Regions from separate parts of the Homo sapiens genome. Here region 2 is linked to region 1. Evidence: promoter capture Hi-C in 16 types of primary human blood cells and fetal thymus (Javierre and others, 2016). All regions are on one chromosome and are shown on one strand. The core of a region is centred on a gene start or on the middle of the fragment in contact, and the rest is flanking DNA. Distances in the headings are between cores, read along the strand shown.

Evidence for each region. The method cuts DNA at HindIII sites, captures the fragments that hold promoters and counts their contacts. A CHiCAGO score of 5 or more calls a contact.
Region 2: a contact is called between a fragment that was not itself captured here and the fragment with the promoter of BACH2 in region 1, in 6 of 17 cell types (total B cells, naive B cells, activated CD4 T cells and 3 more). The highest score is 13.5, in total B cells.

The regions. Positions count from the first base shown.
Region 1 is chr6:90,294,788-90,298,827 of GRCh38, reverse strand. BACH2 (BACH transcriptional regulator 2) reads left to right here and starts at 1,985. Exons shown (of 9, transcript NM_021813.4): 1 at 1,985-2,348. It overlaps LOC105377891 (a long non-coding RNA gene), which reads right to left and starts at 1,589. Exons shown (of 7, transcript XR_942778.4): 1 at 1,092-1,589. LOC124901361 (a long non-coding RNA gene) reads left to right here and starts at 3,622. Exons shown (of 2, transcript XR_007059676.1): 1 at 3,622-4,040. RefSeq lists enhancers at 1-272, 3,590-3,679 and silencers at 2,072-2,121, 2,747-2,806. The HindIII fragment of the contact is 2,083 bases long and covers 1,122-3,204 here.
Region 2 is chr6:90,345,309-90,349,348 of GRCh38, reverse strand. LOC105377891 (a long non-coding RNA gene) reads right to left here. Exons shown (of 7, transcript XR_942778.4): 3 at 3,958-4,040; 4 at 3,228-3,373; 5 at 2,559-2,692. Among named protein-coding and RNA genes, the nearest start is that of MIR4464, 35 kb to the right of the region's middle. The HindIII fragment of the contact is 4,845 bases long and covers 1-4,040 here.

The DNA of each region.
Region 1 (4,040 bases), core at 736-3,235:
CTATCACAGGTGTTTTAGGTTTTTTCATCTCTATTTAATGTCCCACCTCATGCTTGAAAATCTCAAAGTGAAAAAGCTCCAGTCTGAGTCTTTGGGCAAGCAGACTAACTGAAATGACCTGTTAGCCTTTGTTGTATCCATCTGACAAGATCAGCTTGTAGAATCCAGAATGGAGGTGGGAGATCAGCTGGCAGCCTCATTTCCCTCCTCAACCACCCCTACGCTGATGTGCCCAACTCCACTCACAGCTGGGCAGCCACCGCTTGCTTGAAAATAAATGAATCTACACCACTCTCATACGGATGCTCTCAAGCATCCCTTGTTGTGAGAAAAACATTTATTGCTGCTACTAAAATGCGTAAAGTTATCTCACAAACACATACTTACAAGAATGAGGAATGAGAAACAGAACCATCCATAAAACTATAAGAAACGGCCTGGCCAGGGCAGACCAGGAATTAGTACTCTGTCCTTGCCAGGGGTCAGGCAGGGACCTCAGAAGCAGGGTGTTTTGTCCTAGGGGGCACCAGACCAGAGGTCAGGAGACTGAGGGCTACTCCTAGCTCTAGGACTTTTCCTTATCTGAAGGCCGGGTCGGTTAGCAGAGAAAATCTCACAGTCCCGTGCCAGACCTCCACGCAGGGACTCTGCAGTGCTGTTAGAAAAATTAGCTCAGCACCTTCAGCTTGCTTTCAGCCATCACTTAGCTTTCCACACAGACATTCCAAATGGGGCCTTTCAAAACTCTGCCCTCAAATGAAGGTAGTTCAGAGCAACACTTTAGATGATATCACAAGACTCCCAGGACGCTTCACTGCTTCCTCAGCATACGCCAGTGCCCGTTTTACAGGGGGGATTTATGATCCTTCTCTCAGTAGAGCGAGCCAAACTTTTATAATATTCATTAAAAATCAGCACCACGTGTAATAATATGGAATACTGCCTGTACACAAGAGGGCCAAGTTATAGGTGTTTAGGGAAACGTGGCAGAATTTTCTGGCCTTGGCAAGAGGTAAAGTTGCAGGCACCAGCACAACACTAACACAACCTTATTTTATTGCAAATGTACATTCAGCCTAAATCCTAATTACCTTCTGTAAAATCCTAACCACCACCAAGCTTTCTTCTGACAGGGCACTCACACGACGGCCTTTAAGGGCAGCAACAACATCCTAAGAGCCGCAGAAAGGAAAGGCAGGGGAGAGTGGCTGGAAGGCAGTAGGAGCTGGGGCTGAAGCCCGGGAGGTTGGCTTTTAATGTCCTCCTGAAATTGACCACTCTCTTTCCAAAAACACTGGCTTGGGGGCTTAAAGGTTCGCTCAGTAGGGCAGGCGGAGGGCCTCCTGAAAAGGATTGAGAAGTCAACATTCAAAAGGCTGCTTTTACTCGCCCGGTCCCCACCCAAAAGGGAGTCCGGTCAGCTTTGTGGGGGCCAGTGGAGCATCTTTTCTTGCCCTTCCGGGAAAACGCTAGCTAACCCTGGGATCCCCGGTCCCGACGTCTGCTCTCCTTCCCCAGGTGCAGCACCTAGGGCTCTGGCCCCCTCCCCACGTGCCACACCAGCCCTCACCACTACTCTCACCCTGCTATGCCCCCAACCCTCGTCTTTCGTGGCCGGGAAGGCCAGGCCGAGCGGGGCGGTCAGCCGGGCCGGGAGGAGGGGGCTCTCCGGGCCGCGCGGCCGCACAAAGCGGGGAGATCTGCTGCTGCGGCGGCATGAGGCGCGCCCCCTCCCGCGAGCCAGCGGAGCGCGCGCGCCCGCCCCCGTCCCCCGCCCCCCGCCCCAGCCCCCGGAGCGCCATTCGCGGAGCGGCTTACGCTAGTCGCCGGGCGTACCGCGCCCCAGCGGCCGGGGAGGTGCGCTGCCCGGCTCCCGTAAAGTTATTGTGAATGGGGAGCGGGTGACGTCAGCGCCGAATGTCAACAATGTAGCGATTGAGAGTGTGGGCGTTCCGGGGAGAGCGCAAGCCGCGCGGCGCGGAGCAAACAGCGCCGAGCCGCCGCCGCCTCAGCAGCAGCAGCAGCAGCAGCAGCGGCAGCAGCGGCCGTGCACGCCCGGGCTGCGGTCGCACAGCGCTAACGTGAGCGGCCGCCGCCCTCGCCACCCCGCCTGCCCACTCCCGCCGCCGCCCCGCTCTCGCTTTCCCCCCGGCCTCCCCTCGCCCCTTCCCCTCCCCCTTCCCGGCGCACTCGGGGGGCTGGGAACGAGCTGCCATGTGATGCGCGTCCCCTCCGCGAGCTTTCGGTGACCCACGAACTGCCCACCTCGCCGGCTGCCGGGAGGGGGCTGCGAGCCGGGAAGACGCGGGGAAGAGGAGGCGGAAAAGGACGCAAAGTTCTCCGGCGAGGTGAGTCCCGGGCCCCGGGCCCCGGGCCCCGCCGCTGGGCGGGGTGGCGGGGCAAGTTTGCGGGGGGAGCGGGCGCGCGGGGCGGGCGGGGAGGCGTGGGGAAACGGCGCGGGAAGGGAGCCCCGGCCGCCGGGCGCGCAGCCGCCCTCCCCGCGCCCTGCCCGCTTTTATGGCATTTTCTAGGAACGGGAAGGGGGTGGGAGCCGAGCCGGCGGCCGCGCCGCGCCGAATGTGTGCTCTCCCTCCCGGCTGTTTACGGCGGCCGAGGCGCATTGTATTTTGCTGGCGTCGAAGGGTGTTTTGGAACAGCAGAGGGAGGAGGAGCAGAGAGTAATAAGTCAGGCATGGGGAGGGCGGGCTGCAGGAGGCGCGCGTCCGCGCGAGCCGCAGCAGCTGTCAGACCCGCGGCCCTGCCCCCGGCCCGGCGAGGCCCGGGTGTCCCGGCCCCCAGCCTGCGATCCCAGCTCCAGGCCGGGCGGCCTCCTCCTTAACCCTCGGCGTGCGCATCCCGGGCTGCTCCGCGAGGACCTTGGCCGCGGCGCCTTTGCGCTCAGCTGTCAGCCGCCGCCGGGTGGCCCGGACCACCGCGACCGGCGGGGAATCAAAGCCCAAGTTTAGGGTCGCAGGAAGAGGCGAGCTGGGGGCCTCGCGGCGCAGACCTGGATCGAATCTCTCCTAGCGAAAGATCGGGTTGTCGGAAAGCGTCCCGCGTAGCTAAGACCTAAGGGCGCCAGGCTTCTGAGAGGGAAACCTTGCACCTCCTCTCCCACAGATCCTCCATGAAGTCAAGGTGCAACACACACACACACACACACACACACACACCCTACACTCCAGTCTCCAAGCCCCAGAAGCTTCACCCAGGAGACTGGTTTATGAAGGGGACACTGCCCTCCCCGTCCCCGCGTCGAGGCGCTCCGTGGCCCCGCTGTGCTTCGCTCACCCGGCGGGTGTTCGGGAGCCCGGCGCCGCTGGAGACGGCGGCGGGCGGCGCTCACGGGCTACCCTAGGTGCCCACGAGGGGAGAGACTGGAGCGAGCATCTCGGCGACCTCGGTCTGGCCAAGCATTTGCAGGAACTCGGACCGTGAGGGGAAGCGTGCAGGGCCGGGAGTGAGTGTGTGAAGGGGTGGCACACTCCTGGCTTCTGGGGTCGCGGGCGCATGGGGCATCCCCAGCACTCTCCCGCGCGTAGGCGAGTTTGGTAACTTGAGGGAAGTTCCGGCGCGGCCGCTGCCGGGGTGGTTTGTCTGTGGCCCGATGAGGCGCGCCTCGCAGCCTGCTCTCCCGGTCACCGCCGTCGCCGTGACCTGTGGCCTCCAGGAAACGAGAGGGACCGGGGCGCCCCACCCGCGAGACGGACCCGCAGTCTCCCGGCGGGCCCGCGGGCGGCGAGACGCGGCGTTCCTGGTTTTCACCTTCGCTGTCTAGTGCTGCAGTCTCTCACTCTCTGTAAATTTCATCTGTTGAGTGTATTTAACTAAAAAGGGTAATTACTTTAGATAAAAATCCTTTCCTGCCTAGTGGGAACCTTGGCGGAGATGATGCCTAATGAGATATTTTGCTTTTGTCTGTTTAGAGTAAAATTAGAGATGTTAACGCTGATAACGGTTTTCTCAGATCATTAAAATGTAACATGTAGGAAAGGCACGTCTTGCTGCAAAGGCTCGGGCTGACATGAAAGAAGCTGAGC
Region 2 (4,040 bases), core at 961-3,460, 50 kb before region 1:
TTTGAAAGATGAGGAAGAAGCATGATGGAAGTTTGCCTTCACTGTCCAGCATCTGGCCGCTCTTCCTTATTCAGAATATCACCAAGAGTGTAGGTCCTAGTGGGAGACACAGCCCCATCTGTCCCTCTGTAAAAGTTAAAAGGGGCTGAGTTAAACAATAAAAGAGTTAAAATGTCCCCCATTTATTTATTTATTTTCTTTTAGAGACAGTGTCTTGCTCTGCTGCCCAGTCTTGAATGCAGTGGTGCTATCAAAGCTCACTGCACCCTCAAACTCCTGGGCTCAAGCAATCCTCTCCCACCTCAGCCTTATAAGTAGCTAGGTGTACAGGTGCACACTGCCTCACTTGGCTAATTTTTAAAATGGTGATGAGGTCTCACTACATTGCCCAAGCTGGTCTTGAACTCCTGGGCTCAACGGATCCTCCTTCTGTAGCCTCCCAAAGTGCTGGGATTACAGGCATGAGCCAGGACACCCAACCTTGATTTCCCTCCTGTAATTCACTACAATCCAGGGCTTACGAAGATGACCTAGACTCAGTCAATCAGATGCCCACGTAAGACTTTGGCTCTGGAAGGAGTTTATTCATGGCTATGACAGTGGAGTCAAGGGTTCATTGGGAAGGATGGATGACATGAACTTGGCTGTTATTTTCCCAGCCAGTTTTCCCACACTTCCCATCCATGTATGAGCAATTAGATATGCTTCTGATAGACTCCTTTTCTGCCAATTTACTAGATTTTTCATCCAAGCTCTCTGGTCAAAAGAAGAACTCTATGGAGACTATGTGTACATGGGAGCTCAGAGTTCTTAATATCTGGGTGCTAATTTTTATGTGGTGGTATTTTCACTCACAGGCTGCAGCAGCCAGAGACATTTGGGTTGCAGGTAGCTAAAGACCACAGCTTCTGGCAGTTGCTTCCCTGGACACAGTCAACCGGCAACCGAGACTTTAAATAACAGAGATTTCCTTTTCTTTCCAAAGCCTTTTGACCTTATCTCCTCATATTCGAGCCTATTGCCCATGATACTGGTCACATTGTAATGGTCTCCCCATAATCTCTGGCCTCCTCCACTGCAGAGGGTGATCCTAGAGCATGGCCCTGACCATGCCATGCCCTTAGCAAGCACCATTCACACAATGTTCAGAATAAAATCCAAACTATTTAGTTTGGTATTCAAAGTCCTACACAATTTCATTTCTACCTATTTTCCCTAACATACCTTTCTGTACTTTCCAACACACAGCTTATGCTTAAAATAGTTTGGTCTATTCACTGTGCCCTGGGCATGTGTCATGTATTCCTATTCTCCTCTCCTCCCCTCTTTCTCTCCAAATCCTTCCCACCCCTCAAGACCCATGTCCATCCCCACCTCTCTTGGGCAATACTTCTTGCGCTTAGCCACTATGATCTCTCCTCCTCTAAATGTTTAAAACCCATAATGCCCATGCCAGTCATCTGATGCTCAGTAGGCACTGCCTGATAGGTTTTCCTTTTCTTGGGCGTGTGCCTTATTGCATCAACCAGATGATAAACCCATTTAGAGCAGATGCCACACTCTACACAATGACTCCCTGCTATGATTACCCAACTTCTATATACTAGACTAGCTCATGGAACATGATTCAGAACAGGATGGAAACATGGGTCAGCAAGGATATAATAAACAGGTCTCCTTGCCTGCCCTACTCATGGCCCCTTCTGGAGAATCTAGTCTGCCAGGTTACCTAGAAAGAGCATCACTCCCTACCCCATAACCACCCTCCCCATCTCCTCCAACCATGGCTGAGTGTACCAGGGTTAGACATCTAACCCCAAAGCAGCTGCTCCAATGTGAAGCAACACGTGATCTGGACTGATCAGTCTTCTCCTTATAACAATTTGCCCAGGAGACACAGAGACTGTCATCAATTGCCAATGACTACTGGAGCTTGGAAATCATGAGACTAAGGTGGACTGGGAGCTGCGTGGGAGGAAGTGAGCAAGATGAGTATGCAGAGGAAGCAGGTTTAGGAGAAAGGATGAAGATTTTCAGAGACAGAGATCTCTGTAGCTCCTGAAGATAAAGAGAATGGCTTAGCTCCTGGTGGCTTTCTGGTTCTCAGGTCCAATCTTTCACAGGGACTGATTGCATATCCTGTCCATGAGATTTCTCTTTAACATTTCAGGAAATTGGAGCTAGCTTGAATAGCTTTCTGCTCCTTCTCATCCCCCACCCCGCCGCCCTTTTTTTTCCATCAAAGGAACCGTGACTAGAAAGAGGCACCACAGGCTGATAATAATTCTCACCCTCCATTCTTTATACTCTTCCCAGGGTCCTGCCCCTTCTCTTCTCCTAGGGCTGTCACAGCAAAACGTGACTACTAAATTCCTAATGTGGAGAATCAAGAATCAATTGCTCGAATGCTGTCAAAAATGACATTCAAGTTTGAGTGACAATGATGTCTCTGGTCCTGTCCCTATCCACTTCTCTATTTTTAGTTCTGTTCCTACTATCTGAAATTACAATGCCTGGTGCTTAAGCAATTGCCAGGAGTTATTTAACAAGTACCTTACCCTTCTTTGAAGACGATGCTTTGATCCTGAGCTTACATCCTTTTCTCAGTGACAGAGATTTTGGAATGTGCCATTTCACAAAACACCAAGTCTCTTCTGGTGTTTTCTTTGAATGAGGGGCTTGAGTCCATTGGCTGGTAACAGAAATTGGAGCTTGTCAGAAGAAATTTCCTATAACCCACTTCAGCAAGTTACTCCCCATATATTAAATAGGGCTAACATGGCCAGGCTTTCTCAAGGATGCGGTGAAATAAATCAATATAATGGGTTGAAAGTGCTTTGTAAACTAATTCCATATAGTACTATTATTCTTATTGTCAATGCCCATCTATCTTCAGAAGTATTATTCCAGGTGTAAAGGTCATACACAGACCTTTGAATAGCTCAGAGCAGAGCTATTCAATGTTCAGAGCTGTGTGAGGATGCAGAGGCTACATTAGACCTTCAAGTAAATGATGGCTATTTGATGTGCACTCAAGCATGTATATGTATATACTTCACGTTTGAATTTTTTACATTAAAGACGAATTATATCTTCCATCAGAAAAAAAGAATGTCAAATTTTTAAAGCCTATGTGTACAATTTAGGAATCAATTAAGACTAGGGAACTTGAGGAAGGAAGGGACTGGGGAAAGAGTTTAAGTAAGTAAAAAATATATTACCCTTACCCCAAGAATTTATGAAAGTTCATATGAATCTTACTCCAAAGTGTATCTCCATCCTTCAGCATTCAGAACATATTGTCAGGAGTTACAGGTCAGGTCCTCCAGAAACAGATTGGAAGTGTATTTGGGAGGGTCCCTGGGAACCACACCTATGGGAGAGTAGAGGAAACAGGATTGGACAGAAGGAGAAGCTGGACTACATTCAGGCATCACAAAAGCCTCAACTGACCCCCACGGGATGCTCTGAAGCTGAGATGACCCTGCAGAGTTGTTCCAATCCAAATTAAGAGGCAGGGTCTTTATGTTCTCATATGTCAGTCATCGAGTGCAGGCTACCCCCAGAAAGGGGCCCAATGCCTCTCTTCAGCCAAGGGCAATTACCAGGAGGGATTACTCCACTACAAGCTGTCAGCCATCACTCCCAGCAGCTGAGGGAATGAGCACCTCCATCCTGAAGCAGGGGCTATGAGGAGCTGGGGCACATTCAGCATTGACCACACCAGGTCAGAGCTACCATTGTGGGGTTTTGTGTATCAGTGAAATAAGAAACTCCATGAAGAAAATGTGCTCTTCACAATAATATTCTTGTCATTCCACTGGCACACTGTCAGGGACAGGAGCATACCCCAAACTAACTGGTATTTGAGATTCAGTAGAATCTGTGACCAGAGCAAGAAACCCCCACACAATACCCTGCACCTATACTCCAAGCCCAACAAGAAACACATCATACCATTGGCTCCTTAAACCAAGAACTTGCATCCTTTGTCAGTTTCTTAATTCCAAGAGTGAGGGCTCAGCTTTAAACCAGCTGAA